2 separate regions of the Homo sapiens genome follow, and region 2 is linked to region 1. The links are contacts of gene promoters, found by promoter capture Hi-C in blood cells and fetal thymus (Javierre and others, 2016). All regions are on one chromosome and are shown on one strand. Each heading gives the region's core, a stretch centred on a gene start or on the middle of the fragment in contact. The rest is flanking DNA. Distances are from core to core; before and after follow the strand shown.

Region 1 (6,767 bases), core at 2,480-4,979:
CCGTCCACCACCACCCTGACCACGGCTAACGCCTCATCAGCCAGCATCACCTCCTCCAGGAAGCCCTCCCTGACTCTTGGGCTGGGTTGGTGCATCCTTGTACTGTTTTGTGGCCCTCTGTTTACACAGCTGTCTTCTCCACCAGATTGGCATCTCCCCAAGGGCAGGGCCCAGGGCTGAGTCATCTCTGTGTGCCCGGCATCGCCCAGCCCAGCCCTGTCCACCAGGGCTCAGGAGATGTCCCCACAATGAATGAATGTTCTCTCCTCTGCCTTTGCTCCATTTTTGCCTTACCTCTCCCACCCTGTGCTCCTTCTGTCCAGGTATTCTGTAAGCTGTACCCTGAGGTTTCCTGATGATGGCTGAAATGCTGGGAAGGCCACTGTGGACCCAGGGCAGGAACTGGAGAGCAGCCACCAGAGGAATGGGGGTTTCTAGGAGCCATGGGTGTTAGCGAGGGGTGCGGTGTCCCTACCTGTCCCTCCAACAACAGCCCCGGCCTGCTGTGGGAGTGTTCAGCTTCACTGCTCCCTGTCTTTCAGCACTTGTCTGGGCTGCTTCCAGCCTTGGTCATCTCTTCCTGCAAGAAATTCTGGGGGCTGGACATGTAGGTCTAAGGGAGAAGGAAGCTGGGAGTTGAGACTCCTGGGTCTGAGGGAGGAGGGGATGGGGGCCTGGGCCTGGGCTCCAGGGTCTGAGGGAGGAGGGGATGGGGGCCTGGACTCCTGGGTCTGAGGGAGGAGGAGATGGAGTCTGGACTCCTGGGTCTGAGGGAGGAGGGGATGGGGCCTGGACTCCTGGGTCTGAGGGAGGAGGGGATGGGGCCTGGACTCCTGGGTCTGAGGGAGGAGGGGATGGGGCCTGGACTCCTGGGTCTGAGGGAGGCGGGGCTGGCAGCCTGGACTCCTGGGTCTGAGGGAGGGGTGCTGGGGACCTGGACTTCTGGGTCTGAGGGAGGTGGGGCTGGGGGCCTGGACTCCTGGGTCTCAGGGAGGAGGGACTGGGGGTCTGGACCCTGGGTCTGAGGGATGAGGAACTCTGAACCTGTACTCCTGGGTCTGAAGGAGGAGGGGCTGGGTGTCTGGGATCCTGGGTCTGAGGGAGGAGGGACATGGGAACCTGGACTCCTGGGCCTGAGAGAGGAAGGGCTGGGGTCTGGACTCTCGGGTCTGAAGGAGGAGGGTGCTGGGAACCTGGACTCCTGGGTCTTAGAGGAGGGAACTGTTGAGGATTAAAGCCCTGGTTATCCTTCCTCAACCGCACTCTGGTTTTAGAAACATCTGGTTTTATACAGCTGCTCCACCCGAGCAGGGCGGGGTGGGGGCTGGGCAGCCAAATGCCCCACTTCTGGGGAGGAGCCTGCGCTGCCCCCTCCCACTGGGCGGAGGACTCACCCTCCCCTTCTGCTCTGGGCTGGCCTCAGATCATCTGAGGACCCATCATCCTGACACAGCCAGACACCAGGCAGCCCGGCTCCCGGCAACAGCGTCAGACACAGCCCGGCCCGCCCTGGTGGGTGGGAAGGGCGTTCGAGCTCCTTGGGAATGCACCTTCTCCCTGACAGGCCCAGGCAGAGGCTTGGCCTGGCGCAGCCTCCTCGGGGAAAACCCCAGGGTGTGAGGACTTGGTGTGAGGACTTGGTGTCTGGCAGGGGAGAGCTCCGGGACAGGCTGGAAGAGATGGAACTGCAGGGAGAGACGAAGATGTAGAAACAGAGAAATGGAGAGAAACTGAATGAGAGAGACAGAGACAGAGAAACACATACAGAGATAGAGCCTTACAAAGAGATAGGTGCGGTGGCTCACGCCTGTAATCCCAACACTTTGGAAGGCCAAGGCAGATGGATCACTTGAGGTCAGGAGTTGGAGACCAGCCTGGCCTACATAGTGAAACCCCATCTCTACTAAAAATACAAAAAATTAGCCAGGTGTGGTGGTGGGCGCTTGTAGTTCCAGCTACTCGGGAGGCTAAGGCAGGAGAATCGCTTGAACCCGGGAGGCGGAGGTTGCAGTGAGCCGAGCTCACGCCACTGCACTCCAGCCTAGGTGAGAGAGTGAGACTCCGTCTCAAAAAAAAAAAAAAAAAAAGAGAGAGATGGGGATGCAGAGAGACGGAAGGAGGATAGAGACAGAGCTAGAGAGGGAGGGAGATAGAGGGAAAAAGAGACAGAGAGAAAGAGACACACACACATGGACACACAGTGAGAAAGTCAGGGAGAGGCACTCAGAAAGAAAGAGAGCCACACAAGAAGAAAGTCAGGGAGACTTCAGAAATGCAAAGGGACAGACACTCCCAGGTAAAAGCAGAGAGAGAATGGCTGTGAGGGGGGATGAGGAGGAGAAACAGACAGGAATACACAGAGGCAGAGACCCAAATAGAGGGACCGAGAAACAGAGATGGGGTGACAGATACAAAATGACAGAGATTTGGGGAGGGACAGACGAGGAGAGAGAAGCACGGGGGAATTTCTCTCTGCTGCTCCATGTCTTTCAGCCTGTCCTGGAGCTGGCCCGTGCCAGACACCAAAGGTCGTTGGAGTCACAGGCAGGGAGAAAAGAACGAGGCAGCTACCGAGGCAGCTACCAAGGCCGAAAGTGAGACATCAATAGTTCACAGTAAGAGGAGCAGAGAGAAGAACAGAATTAGATACAGATAGTTTTTTTAAAAAATTCATGGAAAGAAGGGCATGTAAACAGACATTTATCACAGATCTGGTCCTGAGGGGCTGGGGTTCGGGCACCCCAGGTCCCGCATCTCTTTTCACCCTTCCTCTGACTCAGTTTCCCTGATGGGTGACAGCACTGACAGACCCCGGCTGGCTCCCCAGGGTCAGCTGACCGACAACTCTCTGTGTTCATCCCTGAGTCCCTGGGGATACAAATCCCAGCGCCCCAGCTCTCCACCCCAGACCCTGGTGCACACACGCAGACCCACGTCAGTTAGGCGCTGAATGGACAGATGTTCACTCACAGCTCCGGTTCCAGGCAGCCGTGCCTCGGGCCAGCGTACACACAGGCACACCCACAGCACGCACGTGTGTGAGTTTCGTTCCATCTGCCAGTTGCTGAGACATGTCCCTGGGGGGCCCAACCCAGAGATGGATTCTGGGGACAGGAGAGGCGGCTGTGGGGAGAAGCAGGGCGGGGGTGACTGGGGAAGGTGAGAAGGGGGAGGTGGGGAGAGCTTTAAAGCAAGAAGAGAAAGAAATGAGGGTGAGAGGAGGCAAGAGAAGTGGAGAGGAAGAAAGGGATGGAGAGAAAGACAGAAACTTGGAGAAATGTGGTAATGGGGAGAGAGATGAGGGTACCAACAAAGAGATGAGGAGAAATAGTGGGTTAGGGAGAAAGAAAGGGATGGAGGGAAATACAGGGATAGGGGATGGGGGGATGAGGGGAACCCCCAAAATGCAAGTGAGGTGGAAGAGAAAAATCAGGGGAGACAAGGGACGAGAGGGGGGAGGAAGAGAGAAGAAGACATAGAGGAGGGAGGGAGAGGAGGGGGAGTGATGGCAGAGAGGACTAGAGGAGGGGCGCGGGTAGACATGGGGGCCTGGGAAGGGAGGCCCGTCTGGCTGAGGGGGGTGGGAGTAATAGCGGGAAGCGGGTGGAGCTGCCCGGCTGGGCCGTGACCTCAGAGCCCCTGGCCCAGCTTAGCCTGACTGACGTCAGCGCTCGCTCCCGCCCCCGCCTGCGCTGGTCTTCAAATGACCCCCCTCCAGCTCTCTGGCCACAGAGAGGCTGGGAGAGCAAGCCGGAGAGAAGAGAGAGCCCGGCCAGACCCACTGCGATGAGACAGGTGTGTGTGTGTGTGTGTGTGTGTGTGTGTGTGTGTGTGTATACAGCCATGTGGGGAAAACTACTGCCATATGTGTGACCACGTGTGTTGGGGAACTGTGTGTGCATGATTTCATGTGTGTATCCATGTGCCTGACAGTGACCATATGTGTGTAGGGGACAGTGAGCATGTGAGGCTGAGTGTGCAGGTCTGTGTATACATTGCCCTGTGTGAGCGGCCATCCCAAGTACATGTAGGTGAGACGTGCCATGTCCGTATTTCTGTATCTGCGTATCTTGCTACAAACTTGTGTATGTCTATGTTCCCTGGGAGGCAGAGAGAAAGAGGGAGTGCGACAGTGAGCGAATGAAAGAGACTGAGTGAGAAAGAGAGTTGGATTTGCCTGTGGCACATGGGAATGGATTTCTGTTTCATGCGTTCAATAGCTATTAAGTTGAACCAAATGAAATCGCCGATACTGAGCCACTCTAAACTTGGAAGAATAGCAATTTCATCTGGTTCAGTATCAGCTTGACAGTCACCTACTATTTCTCTTGAAATCTTCCCTGTGCATCCCATTGCCCCAGACTCTCAGTTGGGGCTCTGTGTGTTTGTGGCCACGTGGACATCCTTTGCTGGTGTTGCTTTTTCCTGCTGAGGGGTGTGTGTCTGCAGGTTCACCTGTGTGGCCGTCGGTGGGGGTCACGGGATCGCTGTGTTTGGCCTGAGTGGGTGTCTCGGGTCATCCTGTAGAACACGAGTAATTTCATTCTGTGTGTCACTCATCATGTGTGAGTTCACGTGTGGGGGAGTGTGTCTACACGTGTGTTCATCTGTGTTTCTGGAATCAACTCTCTGGATCCCCAGCATGAATTGAGCCATCCCTAGGAACTCAGGCAAGGCCAGGTTTGAAGCAAAGGAAGAGAGAAGGGGGATTCGAGAAGAAAGAATAATGTTTAATGTTGAGAGTTTAAAAGCTGTACCTCAGTTTTGTCCTCTAGAAATGTAACGAAAACCACAATATCTAATTTAAAATTTTCTTGTGGCCACATTTGAAAAAGTAAAAACAAACAGGTGAAATTAATTTTAATAATATATTTTTATTTAACCCAGTGTGTCAGGGGCCAGCACATTTTTTTAAATAAAGGGCCCAATATTAAATATTTGAGGCTTTTGGGGGCCATCTGGTCTCTTTTGAAAGTACTCAACTTCGATGTGGTAAATGTAGAATCAGCCACAGATGATGTATAAACAAATGAATGTGGTTGTATGCAAATAAAACTTCCTTTAAGGACACTGAAATTTGAATTTCATATTTTTCATGCTCCACAAACTATTATTCTTCTTTTGGCTTTCAAAAACCATCTAAAAACACACACACAAATTCTTAGCCTGCAGGCTGCAGCAGGTCTTAGCATGCCGACCCCTGCTACATATAAGATATGATCATTTCAATATGTAATCAATACATAAATGTTAATGAGCTATTTTACTTTCTTTTCCCCAGACTTGGCCTTCAAAATCCAGTGTGTTCATAGCACTTCTCACTTAGATGCTACCTTTTCACTGGAAATACCTAATCTGTGTTTAGATTTTATAAGATTTACAATTATAAAAGGGGCATCGTAGATGCAACTTGTTCCAGACATATTTAAAATCTTTCCAATAACCGAATCAAGTAAGAGTTTTTAAATTTAAATGAATTAAAATTAAATAAAATTTAAAACTCAGTTCCTCGGTGATACTGGCTGCATTTCAAGTACTCGGTAGACACATGTGGCTGCTGACACCTGTGTTGGACACAAAGATCTACATCTTAACGACGCATTTAAATAACCCACAGTAAGCCTTGAGGCAGGAACTGGTGGCATAGGAGGCAGTTTAGCGTAGAGGGGACGCCAGAGCCAGACTGCCTGAGTTTTACTTCTGACTCTGCTTATTACCTGAGTGACCTTGGGTAAAAGTATTTGCCTCTCAGTGTCTCAGTTTCCTCATCTGTAACAGAAGACAGTGAAGGTACCTGCCTTATAAGATTGTTGTAGAGACCGGGTGCAGTAGCTCACGCCTATAATCCCAGCACTTTAGGGGGCCAAGGCAGGAGGATCGCTAGAGCCTGGGAGTTCGAGACCAACTTGAGAAACACAGCAAGACCCTGTCTCTATTATTATTATTATTATTTCGAGATGGAGTCTCGCACTGTCACCCAGGCTGAAGTGTAGTGGTGCCATCTTGGCTCACTGCAACCTCCACCTCAGGGGTTCAAGCAGTTCTCCTGCCTTAGCCTTCTGAGGAGCTGAGACTACAGTCGTGCGCCACCAAGCCTGGCTAATTTTTGTATTTTGCTTTCGCCATGTTAGCCAGGCTAATCTCGAACTCCTGACCTCAGGTGATCCACCCGCCTCCGCCTCCCAAAGTGCTGGGATTACAGGCGTGAGCCACAGTTTCTGGCTCCCTGTCTCAATTTAAAAAAAAATTTATATATATATATTAAGGTTGTTGTACAGTAGTGTCTGGCACACAGAAAGTACTTTTTCCTCTGATTCTGGGCTCTTCCAGCAACATTTACTGGGGCACCTGGCTCTGCTGGGGAGTTGGGCAGTGGAAAAGGAGAACCAGGCTATGCCTCTGGAAAGTCAGAGAGAAGAGTCCTCTACCATGGGCTGCTGATCTTGTGCAAGCCACTCCTTCTGGCCAATCAGTCCTCAGTTTGGCCACCTGTATGGTGGCAGAGCACTATCTGTCCCCCAGGGCTCTCCCGAGGGCTAGAGGTTTAGAGATTCAGTTCCTAGGGTTCAAATCCAGGTTCCTCTGCTTTCCAGGGACAACCTTGGGCAAATTGCTGAACCTCTGTGTGACTCAGTTGCCTCATCTGTACAACGGGGATAATAATAACAGTACCTACCTTACAGCGCTGTTGTAAAGATTAAAATAAATTCATTCATCTTAAAGGCTTAGAGCAGGGACTGGTACACAGCATTTTGGTTTTTTAGTAT
Region 2 (6,671 bases), core at 1,179-3,678, 54 kb before region 1:
GGATAGGAGGTGCCAACTGGGAAGAAATTGTACTTGATGTACAACAGCATAACCTATATAAATTTTTAAAATCTTGCCCTTTCTTAAAACTGGGCTTGAAATTACATTCCTATTCCCATAGTCTAGATACCCATCGTGACTGGTAAAATGTTTACCGTGATTTGACTATCTAGAATGATCTCTAGAGACAGTGGCAGACTATATTTTCCACTGATATCTATGTTACATATTTATCTCATCCCACATGTTGTCTGTACAGGTAATTCACACTCCTCCCACTCCTTCCACAGAGAAGTGAGGATTTTTTCCCCCTCCTCTTCAATCTGGACCAGGACTTGTGACTGCCCTGACCAATGGAGTATGGCAGAAGTAATGCTATATCCCTTCCAAGTGTAGTTCATAAAAAGAATGAAACTTCCATTTAACGCTTTCCCCCTCAGATCACTCATCCTGGGAGATACCATCAGCCACGTTATGAGACTACTCCAGCAGTTCTGTGGTGAGGAAGCAACTTTCCAGCAACAACTCATTATCTATGGGATTATGTCACCTGGAAGTGAATTTTCTAGCCTCAGTCAAGCCTTCAGATAATTGCAGCCTCAGCTCACATCTGACTACAAACTCATGAGAGATTTCAATCCAGAAACACTCAAGCCAGAAACTTCCAAATTCCTGACCCAGAGAAATTGTAACAGATAGTAAATTAGATTACTATTGTTTTAAGCCATGTTTTGAGGGTGATTTGCCTGCAGCAATAGATAACTAACACAGGGACAACCTGGTATAATATTAGCTCAAGTGTGACTTAGAATAGGTGAAACATTATGAATTGCCAGGAGTTTTATCAACCAGCAAGCCTCCCAACTCTGTGTGGGTCTCACAAAATCTCCATCATTAGTAGTTAATTCTTTGACTCTATCTTCCAAACTTTATGCCTAGATTGCCATTTCAACTGGAAGAGAACACACTGGGCAAGAGGAACCATTGAGCACCTACTTCCCTACAAATTGGGACAGGAAGTTAGTGTTAGGACCTGAGGGAGGGAGAGTAAGGGACATAGTTTTTGGAGGCGATATTGGCTCTTTTTGTATCAGAGGTTGTCCTTCCTCTTTCACTGTGTTTCTCAGTAACTGTTATGTGCTTTGTGTGTACATACAAAAATCAGATCCAGATTTAGTTGGTTTGCTATTTGTGGTAAGAATTGAGGTGTAAAGGGCATGGGGGACTTTTTTCTGATAAATTATTAATTCTGTTCACTGTTGCTGAGAACCTCTTCTTTCAGAAGAACAAAGTATTGACAGCTTAGCTTGTCCACACCTGTGATTTCACGATCACAGCCTCACTCTCCAAATTTGCTTTCCTAACTAGGACTTCTCCCCATGTTTCCCTCCCAATGGCTGTGTTACCACCGCATATAAAAAAGACCATTTGTTCTATGGTGTGGACCATAAAGATATATCCGTGTTTCCAAGAGGTAATATTAGTTCTAATTCTCATGGTCTAATATTAGTTCTTATTATGTCCTCTAGTTAAAAGAGTATTTATTCAACTGCTAGAAAGCAGGGGAATCATTGCTGGGCGCAGTGGCTCACACAGAAATAAGCCCCGTGTGGTGGCATGTTCCTGTGGTCCCACCTACTCGGGAGACAGAGGTGGGATGATCGCTTGAGCTGGTGAGGTTGAGGCTTCAGTGAGCTATGATTGCACCACTGCACTCCAGCCTTGACCATAGAGCAAGACCCTGACTCAAAAACAAAACAAAACAAAAAAAGAAAACAGGGGAATCTGATTGCACATTACAATTTACCAGGGAATACCTAAAGGGAACAAAGTTAATCTGTGATTAAACACAGATTATTGTGCTCTGCTCCAAACTTTATAAATCAAGATGCTTTGATGTTGCAGTGACCTAACCCATATTAAAACAAACAAACAAACAAACAAACACCTCCCCAATTGACTCTGATGAAACAGCATCAGTGTAGGTCAACATTCGGGACGCAGTTAACTAGATGGTGTTTGGAGCCGCAGGAGGCATGAGATGGAAAGATAGAATGGAATCACAGTTGAACAGTCGCCAGCATCCTAAGCATTTACATGGACTTTCTTTCGTCTAATGGCACTGGTAACTCATAGAATGGGATGAGATACAGGAGAGATCTCTAGCCTCCACCGTCTCTGGAATGTACATTTTGGAATGAAGGGGACTTTCTGCATTGAAAGAACAAAGTTACTTGTACAGATGTGCTTAGAAATGTATTCTGGGCGAGCTAGCCCACAAATAATCAAGCTTTCCAAGGGTTATCTCCCAATGCGGTCACAGAACTGAGTGAAGCAAGAGTTGCATTTCCTTGTGTTTTCTTTTAGCTGCCACAAGAGGGAGCTCGATGTCTAATGAGTTCGTTTTCACGAGCCCAGGAGACCCGAGCCAGTCATGCCGGGGATGGCTTCCTCCTGCTGCCTTTGACCCTCCCTGTCCTAGCAAGTATGAATTTAGAGAATTGCAGCACCTATATGAAAGGTGTCCTGCTTCAAGCAGCCTAATTTCAGGAGCTATGAAGCTTTACTGGTATAAAGAAAAGGGGACCCGAATTCGATTGACTTATTTTTCGTTTTTTCCTCTTTTATTTGAAACAAGGTCTCGCTGTGTCACCCAGGCTGGAGTGCAGTGCCACAATCATAGCTCACTGCCGCCTTCGCCTCCCGGGCTCAAGCTATCCTCCCACCTCAGCCCCAGTCCTTCAGCTGGATCTACAGGCACGCACCACCAAGCCCAGGTAATTTTTGTATTTTCAGTAGAGACGAGGTCTCACTATGTTTCCCAGGCTGGTCTCGAACTCCTGGGCCCAAGCAATTCGCCCACCTCGGCCTCCCAAAGTGGTGGGGTTACAGGCATGAGCCGCTACATCCAGCTGACTTATTTCTCTTAGCTTTTAAAATGTGGACTATAACAACCACCCCACACACAAACACACACAATGAGAAAAAGATAAACGTGAAGATTAATATATTTGTGTAAAACAAAATGCTCATGTACTCCCACTCATGTCAAGAAATAGATCACTATTTGTTTTTCAGAAAAGTTGTCTTCCTAAGATGTGGCAATGGGCTTTATAGCTCTGATAGTAGATAAGAGCAGAGAAATCAACTAAATTACAAACGATCTTTTTTAGTATTACTTTTTTTAATTTTTAATTTTTGTCGGTACATAGTACATAGTAGTTGTATATATTTATGGGGTACATGAGATACTTTGATATCAGGCATGCAATGTGTAATAATCACATCATAGAAAATAGAGTATCCATTCCCTCAAATATTCGTCCTTTGGATTATAAAGAATCCAGTTATACTCTTTTAGTTTTTAAAAAATATATAATTAACTTATCATTGACTATATTCACTCTATTGTGCCTTTGAATACTAGGTTTCATTCATTCTTTCTGTTCTTTTTGTACGCATTAACCATCCCCACTTCTCCCCCGACTCCTGCCACCCTTCCCAATTTCTGGTAACCATCCTTCTATTCTCTATCTCCATGAGTTCAATTGTTTTGATTTTTAGCTCCCACAAATAAGTGAGAACATACAAAGTTTGTCTTTCTGTGCCTGATCCATTTCACTTAACATAATGACCTCCAGTTCCATCCATGTTGTTGCAAATGACAGAGTCTCATTATTTTTCATGGCAGAATAGTACTCCATTATGTATATGAACAATTTTTTTTTGTTCATTCATCTGTTGATAGACACTTAGGTTACAAACTATTGTAATTTTTTTCTATAGACAAACACACAGTCATGCAAAGGAATGTGTGTGTGCACAGGTATTCATTGTAGCTTTTTTTTTGTAATGAGCAAAAGATCAAAAGCAATTTGGTCAGATTAAATTTTGTTACATTCATCCAATAAAATACAATGCAAAAATTAAAAAGAATGAGGAACTTTGAGAATACAGACACAGAAGGAGGACTTTCTAACTCATGATAAATCCACGATCACCCTAATAACCAAATCCATTTAAAGACATTACAAGAAAACAAAACTACAGACCAATAACTCTCATGAACATAGATGCAAAAATTCTCAAAAACATATTAGGAAATCAAACCCAAAAATGTCTAAACTACTATAATGTAATGTATAAAACAAAGTATAAAAATTATTCATGCCAGGTATGCAAGTCTAGTTCAAATTTCAAAAATTAATTAATGTAATCAATTACATCAACAGACTAATGAAAAAACCACATAGTTATATCAGTAGAAGCAGAAAAAGTATTTGACAAAATTCAACACTCATTCATAATTTTTAAAAATGCTCAGTAACCTGGGAATAAAGAGGAACTTCCTCAATCTGATAAACAATGCCTACAAAAAATCCTACAGCTAACATTATACTTAACAGTGGGAAACTTGACGCTTTCCCAGTAAGGCCAGGAACAAGGCAAGGACGTCTTCTCTCATATTGGTTTTCAGCATTGCTGAAGTCTTAGCTAATTCAATTAAAAACAAACTAAAAAGGTATGCATATTGGAAAGGAAGAAAAAAAAACTATTTTGTTCACAACTGACATGATCATCTATGCAGAAAATCCAAAAGATTGGATAACAAACATTCCTGGAAGTAATAAGTGATTATAGCAGGGTTGCAGAGTACAAAAAAATCAATCACTTTCCTAGATACCAACAGTGAGCAAATGGAATTTGAAATTAAAAACACAATACTATTTACATTATGTCCCTCAGAAATGAAACACTGAGTAAAAATCTAACAAAATATGTACAAGATCTATATGAGAAAAACTACAACACTCTGATGAAAGAAATTATAGAAGAACTGAAGAAATTGAGAGATAGTCCATGTACAGGGCTAGGAAGATTCAAGATTGTCAAGATGTCAGTTTTCCTCAATTTGATCTTTGGATTCAGTACAATCCCAATAAAAATTCCAGCAATTTATTCTGTGGATATAACAAACTGATTCTAAAGTTTACATGGACAGGGAAAAGACCCAGTATAGCCAACATAATATTGAACAAGAAGAGCAAAGTTGGAGGACTGACACCATCTGATTTCAAGACATACTGTAAAGCTACAGTAACCAAGACAGTGTACTACAGGCAAAAGAACAGACAAATAGATCAATGGAACTGAATAAGAGAGCCCAGAAATAGACTCACATTAATATTGTCAAGTGATCTTTATCAAAGGAGCAAAGGCAATTCAATGGAGAAAAGATAGTCTTTTCAACAAATGGTTCTGGAATGACTAGACATCCATGTGCAAAAAAGTAACTTTAGAAACAGACCTTACATGCTTTGCTAAAATTAACTTAAAATGGATCGCAGACCTAAATGTAAAAGACAAAACTATAAAACACCTAGAAGATAACATAGGAGAAAATCTAGATGACGTTTGGTTTGACAATGACTTTGTAATTACAAAACAAAAGATATAATCCGTGAAAGAAAGAATCAAGAAGGCAATTCTTATTAAAATTGAAAATTTCTGGCTGGGCATGGTGGCTCACACCTGTAATCCCAGCACTTTGGGAGGCTGAGGTGGGAGGATCACTTGAGCCCAGGAATTTGAGACCAGCCTAGGCAACAAAGTGAGACCCCCATTTCTACAGAAAATAAATGATTAGCTGGGCATAGTGGTGCATACCTGCAGTCCTAGCTACTTGGGAGGATGAAGTGGGGGGATCACTTGAGTCCGTGAGGTTGAGGCTGCTGTGAGCTGTGATGGTGCCACTGCACTCCAGTGTGGGTGACAGAGTGAGACTCTGTCTCAAAAAAAAAAAAATCTAAAAAAAAAAAAAATCTGCTCTATGGGAGAGTGTTGCAGGAGACATATCAGATAAAGGACTGTTATCCAAAATATTCAAAGAACTCCTAAAACTCAACAATAAGGACACAGAAAGCCCATTTTAAAAATGGGCCAAGCCCTTAACAGGCACCTCAAGAAAGAAGATATACAGATGCCAGGTTAACATATGAGAGGGTGATACACATCATATATCATCAGGGAAATGCAAGTTAAAACAGTGAGATACCACCCTACACCTATTAGAAATGGCCAAAATCCAGAACACTGACACAACCAAATGCTGGCAAAGACATGGAACATCCTCATTCATTATTGGTGGGAATGCAAAATGATACAGCCACCTTGGAAGAGAGTTTGGCAGTTTCCCATGCAACTAAACATATGCTTACCATACAATCCAGCAATCATGTTCTTTGGTATTTATCCAAACAAGTTATAAACTTCTGTCCACACAAAAACCTGCACATGGATGTTTATAGCAGCTTTATTTATAATTGTCCAATTGGGAAGCAACCAAGATGTTTTTCAGTAGGTGAATGGATAAATAAATGATGGTACATCCAGACAGTGGACATTATTCAATGCTAAAAAGTAATGAGCTATCAGTCTATGAAAAGACATGGAGGAAACTTTAAATGCATCCTACTAAATGACAGATGCCAATCGTAAAAGGCTACATACTTCATGATTTCTACTATATGACATCCTGGAACAGGAAAAAACTATAAAGACAATGAAAATATCAGTGGTTTCCAGGGGATAGGGAGGAGGTAGGGGTGAATAGGCAGGGCATAGAAAATTTTTAGGGCAATGAAACGAGTCTGTATGATACTGTAATGGTG

Evidence for each region. The method cuts DNA at HindIII sites, captures the fragments that hold promoters and counts their contacts. A CHiCAGO score of 5 or more calls a contact.
Region 2: a contact is called between a fragment that was not itself captured here and the fragment with the promoter of HAS1 in region 1, in 2 of 17 cell types (monocytes and neutrophils). The highest score is 10.2, in monocytes.

What each region holds. Positions count from the first base shown.
Region 1 is chr19:51,720,953-51,727,719 of GRCh38, reverse strand. HAS1 (hyaluronan synthase 1) reads left to right here and starts at 3,729. Exons shown (of 5, transcript NM_001297436.2): 1 at 3,729-3,795. The coding sequence starts at 3,787. The HindIII fragment of the contact is 33,518 bases long and covers 1-6,767 here.
Region 2 is chr19:51,773,751-51,780,421 of GRCh38, reverse strand. It overlaps LOC105372448 (a long non-coding RNA gene), which reads left to right. Exons shown (of 3, transcript XR_936049.2): 3 at 441-723. Among named protein-coding and RNA genes, the nearest start is that of FPR2, 16 kb to the right of the region's middle. RefSeq lists a silencer at 2,312-2,606. The HindIII fragment of the contact is 271 bases long and covers 2,293-2,563 here.